Linked DNA regions of Homo sapiens: regions 1, 2 and 4 are each linked to region 3. Evidence: promoter capture Hi-C in 16 types of primary human blood cells and fetal thymus (Javierre and others, 2016). All regions are on one chromosome and are shown on one strand. Each heading gives the region's core, a stretch centred on a gene start or on the middle of the fragment in contact. The rest is flanking DNA. Distances are from core to core; before and after follow the strand shown.

Region 1 (7,368 bases), core at 3,402-5,901, 270 kb after region 3:
AGGCTGCTACTGGCATCTAGTGGGTGGAGGGCAGGAATGTTGCTAAACATTCCAAAGTGCCCAGGACACCTTCCCCCCAAACACCCATACACAAAATAATTATCAAACCTAAGATATCAGTAGTGCTGATGTTAAGAAACTGCCCTGCGGTCATCTGATCCAACGTTCCCTTTAAGCAACTTACCTCAGAGTTGGGGATAGAATCCAGGTCTCCTGACTGTTTCTACCACTGAGATTAAATGATGGAAAGGGAATTGGACCTCTGAGGCAAGATTCAGGGTTCAGACACCTTTTGTTTTCAATTTGACACATATACATTGTGCTCCTGTGACATACCAGGCATTGGACAAGGTGCTGGGTACTCAGTGGTGGATTAAAATATATACAATCTCTGCCCGTTTGGGACTCCCATGTAGTGGATTTTGAGCTGGGTGACCTTAGGCATGTCTCTTCCTCCTCTGAGCCTTAGTTTCCTAATCTCTAAAATGGGCACGACAGGCTGTCTGTCCCAGCATTTTTGTCAGGCCTTCAGGAATTTAAATGTCAAATACAATTGTAGATTCTCGATAAACATTTAAGTGGATTGAATGCTTCTCCTTCCTGGAGAGGGCTGGCAGGTGGTGGGGAGAGTTTTTCTACAAGGAAAAGAGAAAGGGGAGAAAACTAAGACATTATGGAGCACTTACTGTATGCTTTTCATGGGATCTTCCTGTCAACCCTGGAAGGCAGGTGTTCTCTTACTCAAAGAGAAGATGAGGAAACGGGGGCTCAGAGAGGGAAAGGGACATGCTCAAGCTGGATTTGAACCCAGCTGCCTGGCTCTTTCAGCTCTCCCACTCTGATGCTGGGCAGGGAGTCGAGGTCCAAATCTGACCACGCCTGGCCCTCAAGCCTTATTCCCCAGCATCCCCCGGGGTCTCAGTCTCACCCCATTAGCGCTGCTTTAAAAAGTGCGGACCGACCAGGGCGCGTTATTGCCCACATAAATCAGGCAGCTCCAAGTATGGAACACCTTTAAACAAACAGCTGATGGGAGTGAAGTTCCAGGATCATTATTAATAGCTTTTCATTTCAGTGGCCGCTGTGCTGTGACATGCCTTCCCAGCAGAAACCCTGCGCAGCCAGCCCCCGATCCGCCGATCCCCCGAGTCTACCAGTCAGAATGAATGACTGTACCTTTGTGTTAATTGTGGAGCCCAGCCACATGCAGAATGCTAATAGGGCTGAGTGAGAGGGGGTGGGTGCCAGCCTTGCCTGGTTGCTGGGCGGGGAAGGACCCCACCTCTGGTCTTCCTCCGTGGCAGCCAGCTGCTATATCTGTCTAACATCCTTATCTGAGCTCTGCCCTCCTCTGCTCTAGAAAGCCCTATGGCTCCTGTGGCCCAGACCCAATTCCAGACTCATCTGTCTGCCATTCAGGGTCCTTCATGTCTCTTCCTTTCTGTGGCTCCAGCCTCCTTTCTTGCATTCCAATACCATGGAGTCCTGTGCTGCTCAAACTCTTATTCATTTATTCATCCATTCAATCAATCATCCATTTATTCAATAAACATTTACTAAGCCCTCTGAGGGATAGAGGGGATGAAGCTGTGAACAAGACGGGCATGGTCCGTCATCCCATGGAATTTAATATCAAGCAGAAAAGACAGACGTTAGGTCTGTGTCAGTTTAGCTCTTTATCATCTGTGTAACCTTGCATGAATAACCTCTTCTGGGCCTCAGTTTCCTCCTCTGTAGAATGGGAATAATAACAGTAGCTACCTCACACGGTGGTGTCAGGACTTAAATAGCTAAAAAGATATGTGAATCACTCAATATTCCTCTGATCATTTACTATGGAGTAAGAAGTACTCCGTAAGTGTTAGCTGTTATTATCATTATTAACTCACGACTTCATTAAAACATGCGATGATGACTATAAAAGAAAGGTACAAGGAGAGCATCTGACAGGGAGCTCGGACTAGTCTGGGGCTCTTGGGAAGGGGTCCCTGAGAAAGTGATTTGTTCTCAGACTGGAGTGTGGGGGTGGCGAGGGCGAGGGCAGCCAGGTGGAGGGAACAGCCTGGGTAGAGGCCCTGAGGCTGGATGGATTTTGCCAAGCTGAGAACCTGAAAGGCAGCGGGGAGGTTGGCACGTCAGGAGCAATGGGGAAGAAGGCCGAGATGAGACAGGAGAAGCAGGCAGGAGGCCACACCGTGCAGGATCTCGTGGGCCTTGTTAAATTTTAGATTTCATTCTAAGAGCAATGGGAAGCTATTGAAAGCTTCCGAAGCAGAGGATTGGCATGAATCTTATTCTGTTTGGAACTCACCCAGGCTACTGTGGGTGTGAAGCAGACTGGCCCCCGCCCCTTCACCTGCTGGGGTCCCCCATCAGGTGGCTGAGAATGAAACACGGACATGGGAGAGGAGGATGTTGTCCAGGTGAACAATAATGGTGGCTTGAAGTAGGTGGGGGCAGTGAGGTTGGAGAGGAGTGGGCTATTTCTAGAGACATACGGAAGGCAGAATCCTCGGGATATAGTAGGAATGCTACGGGGAGCTGCAAGATGAGGACCTGTTCGGTAAGACCTTGAGGTGGCCCCATTCACAGATTTGGGGAAGAGAGGGAAGTAGCAAGTTTGGAGGATAAGGAACCATTTATGTAGCTTAACATTCCCCAATGTGTGGAGGCCTGTGAGCCCTTGCATGTACTGTTCCAGGGAGAATGTCCTTCCCCAATCTTGTCTGATGGGGGATTTTGTATGAATCACTCAAAGCCAGGCTCCAATATCCCCTCCAATATATGAATCCCTCCCTGGTACCCCAGATTTGGTCTCTCTCCCCTATGTGTCCACACCTCTCCCAGCACCCTGTACCTCATAGAGCTCTTGGCTCCTTCAGTTTCCTCTGCTGTTTCCATCTCATTTCCCTCCAAGTTTTCGAAGGCCCCAGAGGGTAGTCCCTGGGCCACTCCTCCTCAGATGACCACATGTAACCCCGCAGCTTGAAACCCCATGGATTTGCTGATGACACCCAAATATGTGTGTCCAACTCAGATGTCTGCCCAAAACCCAACACATAGAGCCTCTTGCCTGTTCAGTGCAGATATCTAAAACGCCCTTCAAAACCCTCATGTCTGAACCCGGACTCCTGAGTCCTACCCCCAACCACACACAAATAATGAGAACATAAATTCAAAAACTGCTCCTCTTCCAGCATTCCCCAGTTCGGTAACTGGCAACTCCATGCTTCCAGCTGCTTCCGCCAAAAGCCTTGAAGTCAGTCTTGACTTCACACCCCACATCCAATCCATCAGCAAATCTTGCCAGCTCTACCTTAAAATAGATCCAGAATCTGGCCGATCTTGCCACCTTCATTGTTAGCAGCCTGGTCCGGCCACCATCATCTCTCACCTGGATGATTGCAACAGCCTCCTAACTGGTATCCCTGCTTCTGCCCTGGCCCCCTGCAGACTGTTCTCAGTTATGGTGTTAAAACATAAATCAGGCCGTAACACTCCTTCTCTCAAAATTCTTTTGGCTTCTTGTCTTACTCGGAGTAAAATGGCTCATAAGATCCAACAAGAATTGGCTTCTTGTTACTTCTCTGACCTTTTCCTACTCCCCTCTCCCTCTATTTCAGCCACACTGGCCCTCTGGCTCTTCTCTGAATAGACCAGGTATGATCCCACCTTTGGGCCTTTGCACTTGCTGGTCCTCTTGCCTGGAACACCCTCGCCCCTGATGTCTGCCTGGCTCACTCTCTCCCTTCCTTCGAGGGTCTGCTCAAATGGCTGACCCCATGCACCTTTCCCTTACAACCTGTGATAAACTAGCTCCTCAGTTCCCCAGGCCATTCATATCCCCTCATCCTGCTTTCTTCACCTTCTCCATAACACTTATCACTATCTGATATATTATAAATGGATGCCTCCTTTCTCTATAATGTGAGTGCCATGATTTTAGGGGTGTTGTCTTTTTTGCTTGATGCTGTATTCCCAGCATTTAGAACAGCGCATGGCACATAATAGGTGCTCAGTGGATATTTCTTGAATGACTCGCATAGTTTTTATCTATCTGTCTTCCTGTTTGTCTGCTTGTCTGTCTCCCCCAGCAGACAGCGGGAAGCCACTGGATCCGATTCTCCACTGCTTTCCTGGTGTCCAACACAGAGTCTGCAGAGTGGGTGCTCATCAAATGTTTGAATAAACAAATGAATAATAATAGAATTTCCAGATGGATTGCCTGGGGCGATATGAGGGAGGGATTATGGCTAGACAGAGCTGCCTACTGGAAATTTTCCTGCCATTTCTGAAGGACCTGGGGTCACCTGGGAGGGGAGGAAGCTAGAAACATGAGCCAAGGAATCTCTAGAGGCCAGAAGGGATAGAGATTAAAATTTAGGAGCTGGTGATGGAAGGATCTGGAAGTGCAGGTTTCCAACTTGGCTTCATGTTTGAGGCTAACCTGTGGATTTAGAATTCTGTTGGAAGTTCAGGAAACTAAAGTTTTAGAACAGGCCAAGAGTTTAGGGTTAGGGTCTGAATTAAGGTTTGGAGTTTGGAAAACAGGTTGAAGCTTTGGATTTAAAGTTAATATTCAGAATTCTAGTTAGAGCTGAGTGTTTGGGAGCTGGGCCTAATGTTTGTGGTCAACTGGTTTTGAGAATGGGTCAAGAAATGAAAACTTTGGTGAGAAAACTGTACAAAGTTGAAGGTGGCATCAACTTGAGGGGCTCAACTTGAGGATATTTATTAGATTTTCAAAGCTTCTTTGCCAGGACACTATGAGACAGAAGCTCACAATATATAGTCAAGTTCTTGAACAGTTTTTCTCCACCAGGGGCAATTTTGCCACCCAGGGGACATTTAGCAATGACTAGAGATGTTTCTGGTTGTCACAACTGGGTGGGAGGGTGCTGCTGGCATCTAGTGGGTAGAGGCCAGGAATGCTGCTAAACATTCTACAATGCCCGGGACAGCCCTCCACGACAAAGAATTATCCAGCCCCAAATGTCAATAGAGCTGAGGTTGAGAAACCCAGCACTGGAGGATTTATTCATTCTCTGAAGGGTTAGCCAAGGCTAATCCAAGTGGGCCAGGAGTCAGGATATGAGTGTTTAGGGGGAGGGCTAGTGCGATGCGGGCCTGAGCTATAGAGTCAGGTGTGGGCACCCTTGTGTCCCCCTCCTCCTGGATGGAGCTGCTGACAGCTAACTCTGGCTCTGGCAGACTCTAAGGGAGAGGAAGGGGGTTAGGGTGGAGATGGGGAGGGAGAAGGAGGAGAGGGCCAGCCCAATGTGTCAGGGAATTCACGAAGCTAGAGACAAGCAGGGTGGGAGCTGGTGAAAGAGAGAGAGAGAGTAATAGTTTTGCAGAGTTGCAGAGAGCCCAAGCAGGGTCTATGGGGGGTGTGTTTGGAAGGAAGGCTGGGGGTGTGGCATGGATAGTCAGAGAGCTGCAGAGAGAGTTGGCATCTGGAGGGCCTGGTGTCCAATGCACCCTCTGCAACTTATGTGACTGCCTTGTTCAAGACAGAATTCAAATAATAACAGCTGGCTGGGCATGGTGGCTCACTCCTGTAATCCCAGCACTGTGGGAAGAGAGGCAGGTGGATCACCTGAGGTCAGGAGTTCGAGACCAGCCTGGCCAACATGGCGAAACCCTGTCTCTACTAAAAATACAAAAATTAGCTGGATGTGGTGGCATGTGCCTGTAATCCCAGCTACTCAGGAGGCTGAGGTAGGGGAATCACTTGAACCTGGGAGGCAGAGGTTGCAGTGAGCAGAGATCGCGCCACTGCACTCCAGCCTGGGAGACAGAGCGAGATTCCATCTCAAAAATAAATAAATAAATAAATAAAACAAAAAACAAACAAAACCAAATAATAATAGCTAACACTTGCATCGCACTTACTCTGTGTCGCTCTAAATGCTTTACATCTGTTAACTCATTTTTAATCCTCCATTGAGCCTGTGTGATGGGTACTACCATAATCCCCGTTTTACAGATTGGAAATGGAGGCAAAGGGGTCAGGTAAGTTGCATAAGATCCCATAGCCCTGAGCGGCCCTGCTGGCTCCAGAGCTGGCTCCAGGCTTCTGTTTTCCATTTGCTTCCTCTGCCGTCGACATTCATGATCTCATCACACCCTCTCAATAGTCTCCCGAGATAGGTGCTCTTGTTACGGCCCCTGCTGCACTGATGAAGTAACCAAGGCACAGAGAGGTGAACGACCTCTCAACACAGCCAGGTCTGCCTGACAGCAAGGCCACTTCTGCTCCTCTGCGTTGCAGCCTGGGGTGCACCTCTGCACAGCCCCATGTGCCCACTCTTGTGGCCATATCTGATCTTCACAAATGGCCTCAGACTTCAGGGTTTCTCAGCCTCAGCAGCAGTGACATTTTGGCTGGATAACCCTTTGTTGGTGGGGGCTGTCCTGTGCAGGGTAGGATGGCTGGCCGTATTCTTGGCCTCTACCCATTGAATACCAGTAGCACTCTTTATTCCCAGTTGTGACAACCAAAATTGTCCTCTAGACAATGCCAAATGTTCCCTGGAGGCCAAAATCAACTGCTCTCCCACCCCAATGGAGAATGACTGCTCCAGACAGTAGGCAAAGGAGGATCCTCCTATGACATAGTGGATCATGGAAGAAAGGACCAGAGAGGGTCACACCTTACCCAAGGTCACTCAGAGAGTTGGTGGTAGGACTTAGGTCTCTCCAGCCAACAGGAAGGCATGCCTGCTGAGCTTTCCCACTGGAGGCTCCCTCCCCCAGGGTGAGTGTTGAGTGCCAACGATATGGCAGGAGCTGGCTGCCTGTCCCAATAAATGCAAAGGTCCCATGAGCAGCCCGTCCTTTTCAGAGCCCTCTGCTCTCCAGCTGAGCTGAGGTGGGGTTCGCTCTGCTCCTAGCTGTGGCACTAGGAAAACAGCTGTGGCTTTGATGTCAAACAGACCAGATTTCAAATCCTAGCTCTGCCACACCCATACTGTGGGACTCCAGGCACAGCACTGAACATCTCTCACCCTCTGTTTCCCCATCTGAAAAATGGGCAGTTTGGATTAGAGAATCGCAAACGCCCAACTAACTCTGATGTTCTGATTTTCTGACAAATTAGGGTATCCGGTGTCTTAGTCCTGGCTGTGCCTGCAACTCAAAGTGGCATCTTGGGCAAGTCACTGCCCCTCTCCAGAACCCACTCTCCTCAATCTGCCATTCACCTTCAAGCAGCCAACACTCCAGTCACACAGAACTTCTCATTGTGATCTAAACCGTGAATTCTTCCCTGCGTTGGTTCATGCTGCCCCTCTGAAATGCTCTCCTGCCCATTATCCACCTGGAGAACTATTCATCTTTTTAAGACTGAGCCCAAGTCATTTGCTC
Region 2 (7,146 bases), core at 4,068-6,567, 310 kb after region 3:
ATCTCCAGCTTGGACAACACCCTAAGGCTGGCTGGGGCCAGAGTCAGCCCCAAGTGGGAGCTGATGAGGGGGCCATGACCCTGGTGAGCATTTGGAGCCACGAGAATAGGCCCCTTGCCCTAAAATGAGCTGAATGTCCCTGTTTCGGAGTCACCTCACCCCAGCATGGTCACTGAAGGAGCCCCTGCCATGTTGCCATATGTTTCAGATGCATTATGTCATTATCCCTTCCAAGAGTCCTAGGCTAGATATTATTAATCCCATTTTTCAGATAACAATAAGAGCTACTCTTTATCGACCTCTGCCTAGGTCCTAGGCACCGTGCTAATATCTTTCATTTATTATCTAATTGTTTCCTTAAAACAGCCCTGGTTATGGAGAGACTCAGAGAGGTGACGTGGCTTGCCTAGAGTCACACAGCAAGTGGCAGAATTGGCCCCAAATCCTGGTCTCCCCCTTGCCGTCACGGGGCACACACCGACCCCTCTACCCCGGGCAGCAATGGAAGGAGGGTCAAAAGATAAGGGACATAAAACCCAGGGTAAGGAAAGACAGCAGGTGTTCCCTGCTACTCGGGTGCCCCTCCCAGTGACTCCCTGACAGGGCCATGCTTCACCTGGAAGGACGTGTCTCCAACAGCGAGCATCAGGTGGCGTGGAGCACGTGGAGCACAGCATTGCTCACTCATGGCCAGAGGCTGTCTTCAGAGCAGAGATGAGGAGTCTGGCTGGCTGGGAGGACCAGAAGGACCCTGCTGGGCTGACAAGTTTCGCCTGCTGCAAGGTGCCTCTGGCCCTGAGGGTGGGGGGTCTCCATGGAGTCAAGGAGGAGAGAGGCGGCGCTGAGTGCAAGGAGGCAGAGAAAGCTTCCCAGCAACGGCAAAATCCAGGCTCTGGATCTGCCTCTGGCCTCTCTGCTTCCCTTCTAAGGAGGAAGGGAAGGAACCTGAGTCCCAGGCTCTGGTCCTGACAGGGCTGGGCAACTTTAAGTGGGTGCCCGCTCTTCTCTGGGCTTCTGACTTTTCATCTGTAAGGTGAAATCTTTGTTGCTTAAAAGGGCTCCTTACTTGAGTTCCAGTCAATGAGGTCAGCCGTTGCCCTAGGTGTAAAGGTGGGGACAGGGTAGTAGGTGCCAAATCTCCTCCCACCACTGCCTACACCCCCACCCCCCACCCTGGAATGCTAGCCTGTCGGTGTGGCAGTGACCTCCAATATCGGTGGTGCCAACCTACCCATTTTATAGATGGGGAAACTGATTTATAGAGATGGGAGTGGAGGTCACATAAGGGATCCGAGCCTATGCATTCTGACCCTTGGCCAAACTCCTCTTTAGTCAGCCTTACCCAGGCTGCAGGGGCAATTTGGCTCTAAGGCCACTTTGTTTGGGACTGAGGGACCACAGGCACAGGACAGGCAGAGGGAGCAAGAAGTGGATCCCACAACAGGCTTGTGGCTCTGGCATTCGGCCACTTTTCTCTGTCATCGTAACTGTAAATAAGGCATCTGGGAGTCCTCCCAGCACTTTAACAGATTTAACAAGCAGTAGCATGCGACCCGCAGTCCAAATGGATTTTTTAATAATGAATAAGCATTTATTTAACAAGTAATAACAGTTTTACCACCCTCCGGATCCTCGGAAGTCCAGAGGTCTTGCATTAACGCCTTACACAGGCATCTTCTGCTGCTATCTTTTGTCCATTTTTCTGGTTGTTTTTCTCTTATTGATTGGCAAAAGCTCTTTGTATATTAAGGGTATTAACCCTTTACCTGTGATATGCAAATATTTTAAGTCTGTATAATTATTAAGTTTTCCTTAGGGCATATAGAAGTTTAAATGTTTTATGTTGCAAGGTGTTTTTTTGTTTGTTTGTTTTTTGTTTTAATTTAGAGACTTCTGAGTTTTCAGAATTGCTTGTGAGCCTGAGGAAACCTGTGGCTCTGTTGCAGAAATCCTCAGCTGAGTTCAAACACAAGAGCCCTGGCCATGGAGTACAACTGTGGGTGAATGCCTCTCTTGAGACCTCGGTGGCCTCCATATAATAATGTGTTGAAATAGACAACCTCTCAGCTGCCCCCTGCAGGAATGTCCCATGATTGTAAGATGGGATTTTGCAGGGAAGAGGCTGCAGTGCACTCTGAGAGAGGTCCCAGCCATACAGTCTTTCACAGGTCTATCTCCCCCACCACTTCCAGCCCCTTTGAGAACAGGAACTGCGTCTTTTCATTGCGCTGTCCTTAGCACCTTGCAGAAGGCTGCCTGCCTCATAGTATGCCCTCAGGAGAAATTTACCCATCTGCACTGCTGATTGTACCTGGAAGTGAGCCCTGGCTCCATTTCATGCCCCTGTCTAGAGGTGGTAGAATGGAGTGGATAAGACAGTGTGCTCCCTGGGTTTGGATATTGACTTTTGTTTGCTGGCTGTGTGGCCTTGGGTAAGTCGCTTCACCTCTCTGAGCATGTTTCTTCATCTGTAAAACTGGGGCAAGTCCTCCCAGAGCTGTCTGGCAGCATGAATGAAAAACTGATCTAGCAGCCAAAACACATGATTCCTGCCATGTCGTGGGCAATCAATACACGTCAGGCCTCTTGTATCTCCACTGCTGAGTGGAGTGCATTCCATCTTGAGATGCTAAAAAATCTTCAGTGTTCCCACAGTTTGGGTTCCAGAGTAGACCCTGAGAAATGGATTCAAGGGCAAGTAATTTATTTGGGAAATGATCCCAGGAAGCACCAGTAGGACAGTGGGAAAGTGATACAGGAAAGGCAGGCAACCAATACCGGGTGCTTTATCAAGCCTGTTACTACTGTGGGCAACTGGAGCTCAACTCTGCTGGGGAATTCTGGGAGGGAGAATAGGACTCACATCACAGAGCAATCCACTCCCATTCCCCAGCAAAGGGTGAGGGAGGAGCTGGGGTACTTATACTCTGGCTTCAAATAGTCATCAGTTAAGAGCTGGACATTAATTTCCTGACTCTTTCAGTCTGCCCACTGGGAAGCAAAGTGGCTCTGGAGGCCTGAGAAAGGAACTCAACCAGGCATGCCCTGAAAGGCTAAAGATGAGGTCCTGACACCTTTTTGGAAGGGCAGGTGAAGCAGACATCTCAAGTAGGATGGCCCCAAAAGATTTAAAGGTAGGATTCGGTGGCAGAAGGGGAGTTAATGGGGCCTGATTCTTTGTTGCTCTCCACTCTGATTGCCACCTGAAATTGATAGCTGGTACCAAAGGGCAGTAGTGTCACCTTTCAATAAGATGAAATCTATGTCTCCAGCGGATGGAGACGACAGGAAGATTTATCAAGGCCCTGGCAAAATTAACATTTGGACGGGGGACACGGCAAGAACAGCCTCCAGAGGGGGTCTCTTTGCATTTATTCTGGCTGGTTCCTGCCAGCGGCTGGACTGGAAAGAGCTGCAGGGGTCAGCCATCCAGCTGGCCTCTCAGGGAGGGACGCCTGGACAGACAGATGCAGACACCCAGGGCAAAAGGAGACTGGAAGGAGAACTGTCATCTTTGCTGAGCAGGGAGGCCACCAGGGCACTTGGAGCTGAGTCCTTGCCCTGCCACTCACTTGTTGAAACCCTTTGCCTCAGTTTCCCCATTTGAAAGACAAGGGTATTGTGCTCAATGCTTCTAGCTCTGGCAATCTCTGAGACCATGACACAGAACAAAGCTCTGCCCGGGTGCTATCCCAGCAGTCTTGGGAGGTGAGCATGAATACATCCACAGAATGATGGCTAGCCTGGGTTGAGTACCTATTACGTGTCAGGCACTGTGATAAGTGCTTTACTTGTACTTCCTGTAATACTTACAATAGCCCCATAAGGTAGGCACGGTGGTTTCTGCATTTTGCCTTTGAGCTCAGAGAAGCCAAGTGACTCACCCAGGACTACACAGTGAGTTTGGGGCCAGGTAGACATCGAAACCCAGGTCTACCGGTTCCCAGTGCAGGGCTCCTTCCACTGTAGTCATCCTGGGTTCCAGTTCCAGGCCCTCTGATACTGAACTTCCAAAGGAGTCTCAACTTCTCTCTTGCACAGGAGGATGTATCCAGAGCTCAGGTTCTGGATCAAGATAAACCTGGGTTTGAATCTCAGCTCAATCAGGTCCTTGCCGTGTGGCCTGGCCTGAAACATTCCACGGGAGCCTCTGTTTCTTTGTAAAATGGGCATTGGAGCCATGTCTATCATGAAGATGACATGAGGCAACATGCGTAAAGGGCCGGTCTCTAGGGTCACTGGGAAACAGGCTTCCATGTACGGCCTCCTCCCCTCTCCATTATTCCACTGTGGACTTGCAGAGCTGTGTGGTTTGCATCTGGGGCACATGTGGGAATTAATTTGTGCTAAGGAGGTGAGGTCCTCCCTCCAGGTGAGCAGTGTGGGACAAGGGACCCCAGCAGGCCTGGAGGATGCTGGGACAGAGGCCTCCGCTCAGAGAAGGAGAAAGGCAGGGCCGATGGAGGAAAGGCAGGTGTTGGGAGCAAGTTCCCCTGCCCCACCTCAGACACTTGCACTGAATGCGCCCTCTGAAGCCCCAGCCTTCTACCCTGGAAACACCCTGGGCCCTGGGGTGGAGGAGAAGGAAGGGAGCCCTTGGTGGGAGCTACAGAAAATTAAAGCTAAAAATATGTCTGGGTCAGACCTCAGTTTCCCCATCGGTGAAATGGGTGCAGGCAGTAACACCCCCACCTTAGGCCTATTTGAGCGTAACGGGGTTTTTAAAGTTGGGATTCTAGGCCCCTCACAAACCTGAAAGACATTCACTGTGGGTGCTGTCTGGACTCTGAGCAACTTACTTAACCCCTCCATGCCTCAGTTTACTCGTCTGTGCAATGAACGTAATCATACTTAATGCACTGGGCTGTTGTTAGGATGAGGGGGTGAGGAGTGCTGTCCTGAATAGCACTAAGAACAGTGTCTATGTCTAGGAAATGCTATGCAAATCATGGTTGTTGTTTTTATTACTAATATTATTAATATCATTATCATCATCTCAGGTGAGGGAATGCGGGGCCCGGAGAGGGGCAGAGGCTTGGGAAGGCCACATGATGGTCAGGACTGTAGCCTAGGAGTCTGGCCTTGGACCACAGCCTCAGCCCAAGTCCTCAAACATCCCCTCCCCCATCAAGGCTGCCACATCCCCCTCCCTCACCAGGGAGTGAGAGGAGGCCCAAATCCAATTAGCCTGGGAGCCAACTGCAGAGCATCGCCCCTTTAATATCGCAGGAGAAGCTGCAGAGATAAATGAGAAATTAGAATTCCGCTGGGGTCCCTGAGACCCGCCTGCCGGCCCGCCCTGGGCTGGGGCTGCGGCAATTCTCCTAGGGACCCAAGGAGCTGTCTGAGCCCCAGTGGAGGAGGTGCCCCTGAGGGGCCCTGGGCCAGTGCCTGAGTTTCTCCTTAGGCCTGCCAGCCGCTCCTACTCCCAGCCTCCCATTGCCCACCCACCTTCCCCGCTGCCGCCATCCCACTCCCCTCCCCGTCAACCATAGAATTCACCTTTCCTCTCGAGAGACCCATTCCTCTCCTCCTTCCACAGCCCCTCCCTCCCAGTATCCGAGGGCATCAGGGCAAGGTCTAACCCCATTCTTGGCACGCCCCCGCTTCCCCTTCCCACTCCCCTCCTCTCAGTCCTAACAAAACCCAGGATCCTTCCCTCCTTGGGCTAGGACTGACTCTGCAGCTGAGGCCTCTCTTGGGCCTGGGGGATTCTGGGGAGGACATCACTAGTCCCCCTCAAGGAAGAGGAGGTTCAGGGTCTGTAACAGGAGCTCCTCCTGAGCGTTCCAGAGTAGGTGTGCAAATGAGGCATCTGCAGCCCCCTCCTCTAGAGGGTAATGGGCTGTCATACAAAGCCGGCAGGTCACCACCACAGCCCTGCTGTGGCCTTCCATAGCTCCCTGTCTTGCACAAGACTCAGTTTCCCCTTATGTACAATGGAGAGGGGCTGACATAGGTGCAGGCCTAAGATCTTGGCTTGGACACTTGGCCCAACCCTGGGAAGCAGGCAGGCCCCCCTATCATCAACCCAGCCCACCCACCTGCCTCCCTCCCTCGGGGGACATATTTGCTGCTGGGAAAGTTAATCCATTACAGTTTAAAGGCTCCGTTCCTCGCTGGCAGTAAATTACCTGCTTTGCATTTTGCAGCAACAACTTAACGGTATTAATTTATTGTGCTCTGTCTTTAACAAACATCATTATCATATTGCCAGCCAGGATTATGCAAATGGGAGGGACAAGGGAGAAAGAGGCTGAATCTTGTCCCCAAAGTCACCTTGATTTATTAACTTTGGGGCCCTGCAATTGGCCAGGTCTGGGAGGTGCAGGTGAGTGCAGAGGCCAGGAGAACCCACAAAGTCTGGGCAGAGAGAGTCCTGAGGCCAGAGGGGGACTCCCAGGGGAGGGCACCCTTGGAGGGAAGGGCTGGCTGGGGCTTAGAGGGATTCCCTTGTCAGGTGACTTTGGACAAGTCCATTCTGTCTTGGGCTTCGGTTTCCCCACCTGTAAATGGAGGTTGAATTAAGAGGTCCCTGGAGCTCATAACATATGAACTTGAGATTCAGCAATACATTGTGAATGAGTGAGAGAGAGAGAGAGAGAGTTTATGTGTTTGGGCAGGGTGGGCTGAGTAGAGAAGAAGCCACGTGGTCCTGGGGCTGCAGTGCCCCCATGCCGGGCTCCCTGGCTGCTGCGGCTCCTGAGCACCAGGCTAGTCATGGATGGGCACATGGTGGGAGATGGGTGAGCTGGGGCTGAGAAGAGAGGGGTCTAAGGGAAGGGGCTACTTCTGGGCTGAGAGTCTAAAGGCTGACGGCAGGGGTCAGTTCATGAGAGGGTCTGAGACTTTTAGGCTATACACCAAGATGCTGGGTTGGGAAGGGGAGGCAGGACCATGCCAGGCTGGGAGGCAGCACCCTTTAGCTCCTGATTTTGCATCTGGCCTGGGGGCTGGGCTGGCTGGAGGTCTACTCATGGGGTCCTAGGCCTCCGCACAGCCTCCGGCAGCTCCTCCTGAGCCTCCTGGACTCTGAGTTTACCCCGAGAGACTCTAGGTTGGGCTGCCAGGGGAGCTGGAGGCAGGTGGGCTGGGCCCCCCCTCTGCCCCTCCCTGTGCGCCTCCTCCCTTGGGCTGGCTGTGGTG
Region 3 (7,014 bases), core at 3,986-6,485:
GTGGCGGGCGCCTGTAGTCCCAGCTACTTGGGAGGCTGAGGCAGGAGAATGGCTTGAACCTGGGAGGTGGAGCTTGCAGTGAGCCGAGATCACGCCACTGCACTCCAGCCTGGGAGGTGGAGCTTGCAGTGAGCCGAGATCACGCCACTGCACTCCAGCCTGGGTGACTGAGCAAGACTCCGTCTCAAAAAAAAAAAAAATAGTGTTCTAGGCACTTTGTAAATGTTAACATATTCAATCATTCCTGTTAGGAAAGTATGATGTGATTATTTCTATTTTACAGTCAAGGAAATGATCAACCTGTTTATTCATTCATCAAACATTTATTGAGCCCCTACATGGAGCCAGGCCCTGTACTGGGCAATGGGGATAGAGAAATGAGTTAGACTTTAGAATGCATAAGATTCCCCTTGGAACTTGCTTAAAATGCAACTCCAGGCTCCACCTCCAGAGAGTCTGACCTATTTACAAGGGTGATTCTATGGCTGGTGGCGGTGGGATCACACTTGGGGAGTGTGCAGTGCATGATCTTTTATTCTACAATAATGGTGTGTGTGTGTGCACATGTGTGTGTGTCTGTGTTGTGGTTGAGGTCCAGGAACGTTTCTCAGTCAAGATGACATCTGAACCGGAACTGAATCAGAAAGGATGAACGAGCTTCTTCCTGTGCAAGGGACAATCTTCTTACAGGGTAATTTACCAAGAACCACTAAACCTAAAAATGTAACTACTTTCTGACCCTCACATGTGTGCACAAGACAACACATAGAAGGATGTTGATTGCAGCATTGTTTGTTAGTGAAAAACTGGCAATAACCTAGCTGCCCAGGAGTAAGTCAGTGGATAAATAAAATATGGATCATATACCTGACGTTAGTAGCTATCCACGGTACAGCACTATGTGCCAGGCACTGTTCTATGTGCATTTTGTGTGACAAAACAACCAGAGGAGATAGGTACTCCTATTACTTTGTATGTACTATTATTACTGCCATCACCAATCCCTTGTTTTACAGATAAGGAAACTAAGGCACAGAGAGTTATACAACTCACCCAAAGTCTCATAGCTAGTGAGTGATAAGAGTGGGATTTGAATGTGGGTTCTTGGTGCAAGTGCACGAAGAGAAAAAGAAGAGAAAAAGCAGTGGGTGTCTGGAGAACTTCAAATGGCTCAGAACTCCAGCATGGGGTAGTAGCAGGTGGCTAAGAGGGAATGGAGAGGATTCCAGAATGGTTAAGATAGCAGTGCTAGTTTGGGCTAGATGAGAGAAGTCCTGAATGCCAAGCTGAATATGAATTTGACCTTACAGGTTAGCAAAGGGACTTGACTGAAAGATTGGGGCCCGTGAGTGGAGATGATGGGTTTGATCAGGGCCCACGTGGGAATTTAAGTAGGAGTCCAGAAAACTGCCCTCCTGAGCTTCCTCTTTCATCTGTTTCTTGCTCAAATGACCCACTCCCACTTGGCGTACAAACATTCCCCGCCATGGCTTGTTTACAATCTGTCTTAACCCCTGCCTCCCACTAGATACTAGTCTATTTCTCTACCTTCCTATCCCTATTCACAATAAAACTTCCCAAAAGCATGGTCTCTACTCACTGTCTCCACTTCCTCAATTCCCATTCTCTCCTCAGCCATTTCCAGCCTGGCTCCCACCCCACTACACCACCAAAGTCACCCTCTTCAAAGCCATTTATGACCTTCTTGTAGCCAGATGTGACAGGAGCTCCTCTCTGCTCATCCCACACCAACTCTCCCCACATTGACACAGTGGATCCTGCCCTTCTTCCTGAAACTCTCGGCCTCTGGAACCTTACTTCTGGGTCTCCTCCTACCTCACTGGGTGGATTTTCCTCTTCTGGTGACAGAGGCACCCTTGTGCTCAATCGTGGGAATCCTCTGCTCTGTGTATACTCATTCCCTGTGATGTCTGGTAGCCCACAGCCTTAAATAGCATCTCTCTGCTAAAGACCGTGAAATTTATGTTTCCTACCATAACCTCCTCTCCCCTGCCCCGAGCTCCAGACTCATGTTCAACTGCCTACTCTACATGGCTCCTTAGCTGGCAAACAGACCTCTCAACCTAACGGGTCCAAACTGACTCCTGGGTTTCACCTTCCAAACGTGCTCCTCTGTTGTTACCACTTTAATAAGAGACAGCATCATCCACCCTCAATCAAACTGAACACCTAATCAGTCCTAAAATCTAGGAATCAGTTATTTAAACTTCTTTTCTAGTACTGGGTTTCTCAGCCTCTACACTATTGACATTTTGGGCTGGATACTTTGTTGTGGGGGATTGTCTTACACTGTACATCTACACTGTACCTTCTAGCATGTTTGGTGTCTTCCTCTAGGAGGTGACAGGATCCACGGCCAGATGCCAGGCCCATTCAGGGTCAGCCCTCTCTGCTAAGGAAGGCCCCAGTGTGGGGATGGGGTGCAGCAGGGTAATGTTGAACTGTGACTCATGGCCAGGCAGCCCTGGTACAAACCTAGAGGGCCCAAGAGGCCTTTAGCCCCTAGATGCTGGTACTAGCCCCTGCTCCAGTTGTGATAACCAAAAATGTCTCTGAATATTGCCAAACATTCCCTGGTGGTCAACATTGCTCCCAGTTGAGAACCATTGCCATAATATAATAAATATACAAATGTATCTATCATAAGTGTACATTTGAAGACATTTTCACAAATGGAACACAAGTGTGTAACCAGCACCAGGTCAAGAAACAAGAGGCTGGGCATGGTGGCTCATGCCTATAATCCCAGCACTTTGGAAGGCCAAGGCAGGTGGATCATCTGAGATCAGGAGTTCAAAACCAGCCTGGCCAACATGGTGAATAACTCTCTCCACTAAAAATACAAAAATTAGCTGGGCACGGTCGTGGGTACCTTGTAATCCCAGCTACTTGGGAGGCTGAGGTAGGAGAATTTCTTGAACTGGGAGGTGGAGGTTGCAGTGAGCCAAGATCATGACACTGTACTCTGGCCTGGGCGACAGAGTGAGATTCTGTCTCAAGAGACAAAAAAAAAAAAAAAAAAAAAGAAAGAAACAAAACATTATCAGCACCCTAGAAGCCTGCTTGCAATCACTACCTCTTCTCCCCAAGGGGTACCACTATCATTACTTTTTTTTTTTTCTGTCACCCAGGCTGGAGTGCAGTCGCATGATCTCTGCTCACTGCAACCTCCGCCTCCCAGGTTCAAGCAATTCTCTGCCTCAGTCTCCCAAATACCTAGGATTACAGGCACCCACCACTACACATGGTTAATTTTTGTATTTTTAGTAGAGATGGGGTTTCACCATCTTGGCCAGGCTGGTCTTGAACTCGTGACCTCATGATCCACCAGCCTTGGCCTCCCAAAGTGCTGGGATTACAGGTGTGAGCCACCGCGCCCAGTGCCACTATCATTACTTCTAACAGCTTAGATAGACTTTGACTATTTTTTACTGTATTTAAATAGTGTTATAGGGTATGTATTCTTTTGTGTCTGGACTCTTTTTTATCAAGGTTCTATTTGTGAGATTCATCCATATTGTTCTGAGAATTGTAGATGGTATTCCATTGTGTGAAGGTACTACGACTTATTTCTCTATTTTACTGTTGACAAGCATTTGGTAGATTCCAATTTGGGGCTATTATGAACAATGCCCCTATGAACATTCATGGTAAATGTCTTTTGGTGATCACAAGTAGTCATTTCTTTCGGGTATATACCTAGGAGAAAAACTGCTGGGTTGAAGGATATGTGTACGTTCACCTTCAGTAGATGTTTCCAAATAGTTTCCCAAAGTAGTTTTTGCCTAACTACACTCCCACCAGCAGTGTGTGAATTGCCAGGATTTCTCCTTGACTTCACTCTTATGGTCACGTGTCACATCCGATCCATCAGTGGGTCCTGATGGTTTCACTTTCAAAACCTAACTGGAATCAGACAACTGCCACCACTCTAGTCTGGCTGTCATCACCCCCCAGCTTGGGGTCTGCAGGAGCCTCCTAATTAGATTTCCAGCTTCTACTCTTGCCATTCTTTAGTTGAACCTTCGCCCAGCAGCCAGAATGATCCTGTTAAATTATAAATTGGATCACATCATTCCCCTGCTCAAAAAATCCAGGATCCTCCCCAAAGCCTTCAGAAGACCACATGATCTGCCCTTCTCTCCTCCCTCATCTCCAGTCACTCTCTTCTCCACTCACTCTCTTCCAGACACAATGGCCTTGCTGTTTCTTGGACAGTCGGGACTCCTTCTCACTCCAAGGCTCTGCATTTGCTGTTTCTTCTTCTAGAGAACTCTTCCCCCTAGATCTTTGCATAGCTGGCCCTTCTCATCAGTGAGGTCTCAGCTCAAATACCACATCTTCTAGGAGGCCTTCTCAGGCCACCCCTAAAGTAGTCCTCCCTCTTACCCATTATCCCATGGCCCTAGTTTTAAACATACATCCAATCTCAAATGATCTCATCTATGCATTTGCTCACTTATAATCTTTTTCTCCTTATTAGAATTTAAGCCACTTGAGGGCAAGAAGCCAGTGGATCTCATCCACCGACGTATCCCTCGCACCATTGACCGAAACACAGGAGCGCTATCGACATGTGCCGAATGAATGAATGAATGAATGAATGAGCCCCAGGTGTTTAGGAGACCCTAACAGAGGTGCCCCCGTTGTAGGGACGACTCTCACCTGCAGATGGCCTCCTCAGGCCCTTCGGGTGGCACTGGGGAGCCCAGGGCCTCCCAGCGAAGTGGCCAGATTCAGGAACCCTTCGCACAGCGGGCACTAGGACCCTGCGCGGCGCCGCGTCTCGCGGGGGGCGGGCGGGCGGAGGGGGTTGGGGGATCCGCTCTTTCTCCCTCCTAGAGCCTGGTTGCAGCCACTTGTGCGATCCCGGACCTTGCCGCGGCCGCCTGGCTCCTTTCCGCGCCATGAGCCGCAGGTTCACGGTCACCTCGCTGCCCCCCGCAGGGCCCGCCAGAAGCCCTGACCCAGAGTCCCGCCGGCATTCGGTCGCAGACCCCCGCCACCTCCCGGGGGAAGACGTCAAAGGTAGAGGCCGCAGGGGGCGGGGCCTGCCAGGGCCGGGCGGGACGAGGGGGAGGGGCCGGGGCGGACCGTCTGTTGAAGGGGGCAGGGCCAAGACCGGGGGCGGGGAGGGGTCCCAGCCCTAGGCCTGAGAGGGGAATGGAGCCAGGACTAGGAAACCAAGGGGCCGGGGCCGCGGAACGCAAAGTGTGGAGGGGGAGGGGCCAAACGCGAGGTGGGCGTGGCCACGAGGGAAAGGGGTGGGGCCAGGGAAGGGGTTTGGACGGAGGCGAAGGGGGCGGGTCTGGTGATGGAAAGGCCGGGGTCAAGGTGGAGAGTAGGCCGTAGGGCACTAAAGGGGCGGGGACATCTCGAGTAGGGAGCGGGACCAGAGTGAGGAGGTGGAACTAGGGAAAAAGGGGGCTGTGTGTTGAAGGGGGATGGTCAGGAGCCCCTAAAGGGGAGGCGGCGGGACTAGGTTGGTTTGGGGTCAGGAAAGGGCGGGACTAGTAGGGAATGAGTTGGGCCAGGAGGATGGGAGTGGGGCCTGGGAGGGGGGTGGGGTCGAGGGCGGGAGGAAAACTGAGTCAGGGTTGCCGAGGCAGGTGCCAGGTCAGCGGGTCCTCGGTGCCTGGCGGATCCTCCAATCCTCTAGCTCCCTGGAGGCTTAGCGGACAGCGACTGGGGATCCCGGGAAGGAGACGGGAGGCAGGGAAGTTAGTATGGATCCTGGGCAGCGAGATTCAGGGAGGATGCCGTAGGGTCGCTGATCCCGACTCTTGGGGACCCACTTAGCTCCTTGTCTGCTCGAGCTCCGTAAGGGTTGGGAGGAGCCAGCTCAGGCGGGGTTGGGGGCGTCTTCCTCGCGGGCCCTGTGCAGGGTCTTGTAATGGAAGTTACACGCAGGGCACAGAGTATAGGGGAGGGGAAAGATCCTTCTGGCCTTCGGTGGAGAAGTAGCATCCTGGGCGCGTGCACAGTCTCCCCTCAGGGGGCACTCATCAGGGGTCCTCTCCCTGGCTCTGAGGCCCTCGGGTCTGGAAGGAACAAGGCGAATCGGCTTGTAGTGGCCCCAGCGAGGGGAGGAGGAGGAGGAGGAGGAGGAGGAGGAGGAAGAGGAGGAGGAGGAAGAGGAGGAGGAAGAGGAGGAGGAGGAGAAGGAGGAGGAGAAGCCTCCCCAGACCGCCAGGGGTCGCTGCCGAGCCGCAGGTGAGCTCGCCCCGAAGCAAACCCAAGCGCCGAAACCCCTAGAGTAACCCTTAGGGGGTTATCTGGCGGACCTCCTCATTGTACAGATGACCAAATTGAGGCCTGGAATTCCGAATGGCCCCAGTCCCGGGAACCGAACGCCTCCTGGTTGTGGCCACTTGGATTTCTTGGGCTCCTTCCACTCTTCATCTTTCTCATAATCTCTTTTCTCATTTTCATGAATGACCTTACCAGCCTCCCAGATTTGAAAGTAAGAAATTCTGGAGCCATTCTCAACCCTTCCTTTTTTCTTTCCAGCAAATCCAACTGATCCCCACGTCTTGGCCATTCACCTCTGAAACTTATCCTGAATCTGGCAGCATCGGTCCCCCCTCTGTCATCATCGCCCTGCTCCAAGCCTCACATGGCCACGACCACATCCTCTCCACTGGCCTCCCTGCCTCCAGTCCTTCCCTAGCCCTCCTCCACAGAAGCCCCCCATCACTTGCAAAATAAAGGCCAAAGCCTTAAGTCTGTCATTCTCTTTCCTCATTTGCTTCTGGTGTTCTTGTCCACATTCATTCTCCCACCTCCATCAGCCAGGAAAACTCCTATTCGTTCTGTAAGTTATAGCTCATTTAACCTTTTCCAAAAACCTTTTCAGTTTCCTCTTCGGCCCACCCACTGCACCCTTAGTGCACATGTCCCGGTGGATGGCAGTCGTTTTCTTTACTTATGGGTATCCTCCATTGGAACATCTCAAGGACAGGGACCATCTCCTTTATCTTTGTGTTCTGAGTT
Region 4 (7,428 bases), core at 3,856-6,355, 290 kb after region 3:
TGGCTGTCACAGTTATGAGAATTGTTCATCTTCCTCCCTGGACCACCAGACTCCTGTCAGCTGGGATTCAGGCTGCTTGCTCACCATTGTGTCTCCACCATGCAGCACAATGCTTAACACATAGTAATGCTTTATATGTAAATATATGTAAATGCTTTATATGTAAATATATATATATACATTTTAAACTGGATAATGAATGTATGGTCAGACAGGCAGATGGGTGATGCAAGGAAGAGGTGCTATTTGGGTTGGGTCCTTAATGCTTTGGAATATCTTCGGGGAAGGTTGTTCAGGTGGAAGGGCAGGTGGGGCTGGATGCAGGAGTGTCAGATTGGAGGCACAGTGGGAGATAAAGGAGGATGCAGACGGATTACAAGGACCTTGAATGTCATAGTGCCGAGTCTGGACTTAATTCAGTAGGCAATGGGGAGCCATGGAAGGGTTTTAATCAAGCCAGTGACACGATCCCACCTGCGTTAGAGAACGATCGCTCTGGTTGCCGCAGGGGTTGCAGCGGGAGGGTATCAGAGGCTGGGAGACCAGGGAGGAGGCTGCCACAACAGGTTAGGCATGAACCAGTGAGGTCTGAGCTGGAGAAGGGATCGCGAGATGGATGAGAGGGGAGAAAAGGTAGAGATTAGGATGAAATGAATCTGTGGGACTCTAGAACATGTTCCCACACTGCCGGCTGCATGCAGGGACTCCACCTTCCTCAAGGCAAAGGAAGAAGGATCCTGAAGTCAGAGACGGATCCTGAAGTCAGAGACAGATCCTGGTGGTCCTAACTCAATTCCCCTCCTGCAGGGGTGCAGGCAGCTGAGATCATGTGCAAAACCAAACAAGGAGGAACTGCTGCATTTACCCCATGGGAACCAAGGAATATAAATGGAGGGATATGAGCAATAACAATACTGCTTTATGTATGGGGTGTCCTATGTGCCAGGCATTGTGCTCAGCACCATACATGCTCATGCACATTTGATCTTCACAACCCAATGAGACAGGTATTACATTTTCCTCCATTTCACAGAGGAAGAAACTAAGGCTCAGAGAGGTAAAGTAACTTGCCAGCAAGTCACAAACTCAGGCTGGTTGGACTCCAATGCCTACGCGCTTAATCATCTATTTATATTATGCACAGGAAAGAGCTGGTAACAAGTGGATGGCTGAAGGCTTGTGGGTCTGACGACAAAGCAAGAAGTTCCCAGCCTAATCCCAATGTGACAGCAGGAAGGAGCCTGCTGATGGGGCATGGAGGGAAATGTGGGGGAAGAAGGGAATTCCTCCAGGTTGCTGTACCTCATGTGTTTGAAATCAGACCCACATATTCGGAAAGGTGTGTGCCCATTGTAAGAGAGCTGAGCTAAGGAGTGAGTAGTGAATATATCCTTAACCCCCAGATGGGCCACCTTTGGAGTAATTAAAGAAAGGGATCCTTTTCTGGGGGTAAGCAGCCCCATAGGCCCATGGCTGGTAAGTATATGAAGCCTTTTTGCAAATTAGAGAAAGATGCCCCCTCCTCCAGGCAGGCACAGCCTGTCTTTGGGGCACCTGACTTGGAGAGTGGAGCTTAAAATAGATTTCAGTCCCCGCTCTCCTCCTGCATTAAATGCCCTTGGACAGTCAACAACCTGCCCAACTGCATATAACAGCCATGCCTCCAGCCTTCCTGTCCTGCACCTCTGTTTCCAAGCAGCCACTGTGTATCATCAACAATGAGAAAACGTCCCTCCTGCCAGATACACAGAGCTCAAATCACTCCACAGACAACTTTCTTGTTAGGCCTTGTCTCCTCCATGGGCGGAAAGACAGTCCTATCATGCCCACTGCCCTGATGAAAAGTTGAGGTCAGAGCCTGTCCTCGTGGTGAAATATCTAGGCTTTCTCTAGAGAGGCCAGAATCAAAACACAAGGTTGTAGGAAGGAGAGGCCTGAGTTGAGAGCTCCATCTTAAAGGTGCTTTGAGGAACCCGGGGTGGAGGGTGTGCCCACTCTTGCGGGGGGCATGAGGCTTTTCTCTCTGAGCCTGACCTGAGGCCTGGGTTTCCTCTCAGCCTGTTTCCCCACCTGGTCCCCAGCCCCTAGCACCCTTCCTGGCTCAGCTATGGGGAGGAATGAGGAAGTCCTTGGCCCCGGGGCCTCAGCCCAGACACCACCGTAGGGTCTTCTATTCCCTCACTCCCTCCCAGGCCATGCAGTGCCAGCTGCTACCCGTGTTATATAAACAGAAATCATTCACTCTCTCTCACTCTACCTGAGGCTGCATTTCAGATTGGAGCTTCCTGATGGAAGAAAAAGGGGAGGGGGAAGAACAGAGAGAGAGAGGAGAGGAAGTTTAATTGGCTGACTCTTATCGCCCATGTGGTAAATAAACTGGCTGCTCCGAACTTTGCCAACTCGGGAGGAGACGGGCCCTCCTGGGCTCCCTGCCTTAGCTATGGCCCGGCCCCCTGTCAGACAACTTCAGAATGCAGCGCTCCTGCAAAGCTCTCAGAAAGACCAGTGCCTGGGGAAGCAGCAGGGGCTTTGGGGGTTCCAACCTCTAGGTATGATTATTCCAGAGCACGACCAGAAACATCCAGAGATCACAGCCACCCTTTTGACAGAAAGGCTGTGACTCACCCGGAGGTCACAACACACTTTTAGGGGCCAAACTTTGTCCTCTGCTTCTGCTACTCGGCGTCTCTGCTAAAGGCATTCAACAGCTTTCCTCCGGCACTGGCCTGGGAGCACTGGGGGTCTAACTTGAACACCTCATGCTGAATTTAGAGCAAGTGTCTTCTTGTCCTGCCTGCAGCGTGAAGCCAAGAAACGGCTCTGTTTTGCCCCAGGCCTACCCAACACATAAGCAGCGTTGGTGAGGCCTGGATGTCAAGATGCCTGGGTTCCTATTCCGGCTCTGGGTATAGCTTACCATGTGACCTCGGGCTGCTGTTGCCAATCCTTGAAAATGGAAAAGAGGGCAGCCCAGGTGGTCTCCAATGTGCTGCTCACAGTTAGGAATAGGGAAAGGGGTTGTCTCCAGGGGTCCCCTGATGGGGCCACCCAAGAGGTACAGGTGCCCCTTAGCTGAGAGAGACCTGGCTGGCTTTATAAAGTACCTGCCCCCGAGGCACTGGCAGTGGTGGACCGGGAAGGGCACACAGACATCTCCAGGAAGCAGTGTTTAAATGTTGGCAATGCCCTTCCCTTCCAGGAGGAATGGAAGAGGAGTGTCCCAGACACTGGGACAAGGAGGGAAATAAGGGTGAAGTAGAGAAATGGCTGGGGCAGGGAACAGTTGAGTGCTACAGAAAAACTGAGGCAGACAGGATAGAAGATGGGTCGGGGTTGGGGGGGACGAGGAAATGGTCATTGGTGGGCAAAGACCAAAGGATGTCACTATGGGTGTAGAGGCCAAGTTTCAACAAGGGCTGTAGACTAGGGGCAACTGAGGGGGACGGAGTGGGCACTGATGGACACATATACGGGATACAAATGAAGGACAGAGAGTCGCGGTGGTTAGGGAGGAGCCTTTGGGCCCTAGGGCAGTGGTGATGCTGATATAGGGTATTGGCGCTGACCAGTGGGAGAAGAGGATGAGATCCTGAACCTGGGTGGAGAGGGAGAGAGAGCTGGCAACAGCCAAAGCCCTCAAATGAGCCGCTGCCTGTGCTGGGGGCACCTCGGCCAGCCCCAGAAACCTGGGGAGTGCTGGAATCAGCCCCACGGAAAAAGAAGCTGGCATGCGCAACCCTGGCGACGCCCGAAGGGTTTGGAGAGAAGAGGTTCCAAGGAGCGAGCACCTCGGAAGACCTGAGCAGCTTCAAACAGCAGCTTCTCTGCCCGCCACAAGGGGGTGCCCTGCACCTCGGGGAGACCTCGGGGGATCCTGGATCAGCCCTACCCTCTGCAGCCCCGCCTGGGACAGGGCCCGACGTTGCCAGAGAAGAGGCAGCGGGGAGGCGCGAGCGAGACGGGTCCACACTGTGCCCACCCAGGGCTGCCCGGCACCCCGCGCGCCCACGCAGTCCACTCTTCACAGTAAACGCCGCGGCCCCCGAGGGTTAGCCCTAAGTGGCGCTCTCTTTGGACGTTAGGCTGTCGGGGGCCCCGTCCTTCTTCCCCAGCGGGGACGGTGTCTCCGGAGTCGGGTCCTAAGGAAGAGAGCAGCGCTGGCTCTCGCTCACCGCCAGCCCGCCCGACGGCCATAGGGCAGGGGGGGTCGCGCCGGTGGGGCCGGCAGGGGTCCCTGTGGGCCGCCTCCCCGGCTCAGAGGGGACCAGAACCGTGCGTGTCGCCGCGGCTGGAGTCAGCCTCCGGGTGTCCCCGGACGCGGCACGACCTCGCACACACACACCGCGCGCACACGCTCGCGCCGTGCGGTATTTTCCCGGCCCCGGACCCCGCCTCTGGGAGGGGCCGGGGAGCCGAGCCCCGCTAGCAGGGTTGGGGGACCGGGAACGCCTGGGTCCCAGCCCTCGCGTCAGGGCTGTGCGCCACCTTCCCAGCCCCTTTTGGCGCGCCGGCTCGGCCCCTGGCGCTGCCACCCCTCGGCCCGCGGGGGTCCCGGAGGCTCCCGGGCGCGCGGCGGACGAGGTTGTGGGGACGGGTGGGAGCTGCGGGCTTCGGGCCGAGAGGCGGCTCGGCTCCGCGCCGGGGAAAGTTTGGACGTGGGAAACTCCCTCCCCGCCCTCCCGGCCGAGAGGAGGGGGCGCGCAGGGCCGGGCGCAGGCACCCCGGCTCCTCCTGCGGCTGGAGGCTCGCCCCCCGCGCCGCCTGCCCGGCCGCTCCCGCCGGCCAGGGGGCTCCCTCCCTGCCGGGCAGCCTCCCCTCGGCGGCGATCCGGCCGCTCCTCCCGCGGCACCCCGCGCTCTTACCTCGGGGAGCGGCCCGGGGCTCCCCCTAGTCCTGCCGCCTCGGGACGCTGCGTGGGGCGGGAGCCCCGGCGCGGGCAGCGGGCGAGTCCGGAGCCCCGCGGCCGCCCGCAGGAGCCGGAGGGAGAGCGGGAGCGAGAGGGGGAGCCGCGGCGGCGTGTGCGCGCGTGTGTGTGAGCGAGAGAGCGAGAGAGCGAGAGAGCGAGGGAGTGAGCGAGCGAGCGGGAGCGAGGGAGTGTGCGTGTCTGACTGGGGGGAAGTGTGCAAGGGACGGATCCCTTCCTTCCTCCCGCAGCCTCTGGTGGAGACTCGGAGAATGCAGGGCCCGCCGGGCAGGAGCCGCGCAGCGCCAAGCCGCAGGCGGCCGCCGGCCCGGACCCCCGCAGCCGGGGAACCCCAGCCCCCGCCCCCCGGATCGCGCCCCTCCTACACCAGGAGGGGACAGCCTTTCCCTCTCTCGGGCGGCCCAGTCCCAGGAAACCCCCCAGGGGACAGTGCCCCTCCCTCCTCCAACCCCAGATCCGCGCGAAGGGAGCGCCCCCAGGAGGGGGACCATCTACCTCCTCGCCTGGCAGCTCCCCAGGTGGCCGCAGTTTGAGACCAGAGCCTATTTCCCCACCTGATTTTACTGCGAATAGGGCTTCCCATTTCCGCCCCCTGACTACTGCGGGAGGCCGCCTTCAGAGGAGCAGGGGCGCAGGCCAGGGTAGGAGCAGGCTTCTCGAACAGTGGCCGCCCCGGCTTGCTGCCCAGAAAGGCACCTTGCACAGACCAGATCTGCCAGTTCAGAAACAGTCACTGTGCATTGAGGTGGACACCGACCAGGTGCCCAGGGCTGAGTCTCCAGGCAGGTGGGAGGTCGGGTGTCCCCGGGAGAGAAACTTGTGGGCTTTTCCTCTGGAGAGTCCCGCTGGACATCCTTGCAACCAACAAAGTAAGCAGGCAAAACAAGACACCTCCATCCTTAACTTGGTGCCACCTTGACCTGGAGAAGTCTCCCAATAAAATCTTCCCACTGCCCAGAAACTCCTTGCTGGTTGGGTTTTCCGTTCTTTTAAAAATCCGGCTGGTCTGCTCCCTGATGTTTTTTCCACCTGGCCCTGTTTCTTTCTCCTGGCTGCCTGGCTCTCCTTACTACTTCATCTCTCTGGGATGAGGCCTAATGGAGGAGACCCTCCCACCCCACTCCTGAGTTCCCAATATGAGGTCGTTGATGGTAGGATAGGACCAGTGACTCCCATAGACCCACCCTTTGTCTTGGGTTGTAGGTCCCCTTAGGAGTTGCCCGCCCCCCTATTCCCCATGGCTTCCAGATAGGTGAGTGAAGGATAACAGGAGACTGGACAGCTGCAGACCTCTGTCCCGCCAAGCTGCCAATGACCAGCCATTTAATCACCCACAAGCAGCTGCTGAAGTTCATGGCAAAGAGGGGGCAGGGCCCTCCAGGACCCCCAGCTCTACCTCGCCCCTATCCTTCTCTCCTCCTCGCCTCCTTCCCCAATTTCCATCTCCATCTCCACACCCTAGTCCGTCTTGCTGATGATTGGAATCACCTCTCCTGCTGGCTGCCCCTCTGGCCCCTCCTACTAAACTCCATCATTCATTTATTTATTTTGAGATGTATTCTCCACTGTGCCAGTCTGTTCCCTCCCCTACGTCCTTCTCTTGGTTTATTTCCCTTCATTGATCTCTTCCAGCCTTGCCTTTCTATCGCCTTCCTTTTCTCCATCTCTCTCTTCCCCTCTCCTCTCTATTCTTAGCCTCCACTCTTTCATGCTTTCAGAGACCAGAGGCCAGCCTTCCAGGTGCATCTCTTCACTTTTGGTTCTCTCCTCCCGCTCTGACTCACTTTTGCTGTTTGCTCCAGTTCCCATTCCTTCTTTGCCTCTTCCTCCAGGCTCTGGTGTGTGCTGTTCATCTCTGGAGTCAGACCTACTTAGTTGTCCACAGGTTGTTTTGGTCTGGGACACTGTTGCTGTCACATCTGCATGCACACAGTAGGTGCTCAATAAATGTTATTGAATGAACTGTTGTCACATCTTTCTCTTTTGCTCTGGTCTCTCTCTTCTCTCTCTTTTATTTTTATTTTTTTTTGAGATGGGGGTCTCACTATGTTGTCCAGGCTGGATTCCTGGACTCAGGTGATCATTCTGCCTCAGCCTCTCAAGTAACTGGGACACCAGGCATGTGCTGCTGCACCCAGCTCCCCATGACTCTTTATTAGACCCTCAGGTTTTCCTATCCCAATGTTTCCTATTTTCAGGCTCATTCTACCGTTATTTCCAATTCTTCCTTCCTTCAACAAACTTTCTCTGAGTGTCCACTCTGTTGTGAGCACTATGGCTAGGCTCTGAGAACACATTGAATGTTTATTGAGCACTTGCTGTGTGCCATAGTTCTGCTTTTAAGTCCTCACAATAATCAGATACTAGTATTAGCCCATTTTACAAATGAGGAAACTGAGACACGGTGTTGAAATAGCAAGATCATTCAGACGGCAAGTAGAGAGATCAGGTTGACGCATTGGGCCTGGGTCAGACCTCTCACTCTGGTCTGGGAGAAGGTAAGC

Evidence for each region. The method cuts DNA at HindIII sites, captures the fragments that hold promoters and counts their contacts. A CHiCAGO score of 5 or more calls a contact.
Region 1: a contact is called between a fragment that was not itself captured here and the fragment with the promoter of SLC12A5-AS1 in region 3, in 2 of 17 cell types (megakaryocytes and M2 macrophages). The highest score is 7.4, in megakaryocytes.
Region 2: a fragment that was not itself captured here is called in contact with the fragment with the promoter of SLC12A5-AS1 in region 3 in 2 of 17 cell types (endothelial precursors and M2 macrophages); the score reaches 6.3 in endothelial precursors.
Region 4: a contact is called between the fragment with the promoter of CDH22 here and the fragment with the promoter of SLC12A5-AS1 in region 3, in 14 of 17 cell types (M2 macrophages, activated CD4 T cells, endothelial precursors and 11 more). The highest score is 10.5, in M2 macrophages.

What each region holds. Positions count from the first base shown.
Region 1 is chr20:46,285,460-46,292,827 of GRCh38, forward strand. The region is part of intron 1 of CDH22 (cadherin 22); the gene reads right to left. Among named protein-coding and RNA genes, the nearest start is that of CDH22, 19 kb to the right of the region's middle. The HindIII fragment of the contact is 190 bases long and covers 4,557-4,746 here.
Region 2 is chr20:46,323,084-46,330,229 of GRCh38, forward strand. No RefSeq gene overlaps it. Among named protein-coding and RNA genes, the nearest start is that of CDH22, 18 kb to the left of the region's middle. RefSeq lists a silencer at 701-890. The HindIII fragment of the contact is 8,908 bases long and covers 864-7,146 here.
Region 3 is chr20:46,016,838-46,023,851 of GRCh38, forward strand. It overlaps SLC12A5-AS1 (SLC12A5 and MMP9 antisense RNA 1), which reads right to left and starts at 5,236. Exons shown (of 3, transcript NR_147699.1): 1 at 4,687-5,236; 2 at 2,894-3,011. It also overlaps a transcript of SLC12A5 not described here. RefSeq lists silencers at 4,747-4,906, 4,927-5,286. The HindIII fragment of the contact is 8,792 bases long and covers 1-7,014 here.
Region 4 is chr20:46,303,393-46,310,820 of GRCh38, forward strand. CDH22 (cadherin 22) reads right to left here and starts at 5,106. Exons shown (of 12, transcript NM_021248.3): 1 at 4,863-5,106. RefSeq lists a silencer at 1-215. The HindIII fragment of the contact is 22,305 bases long and covers 1-7,428 here.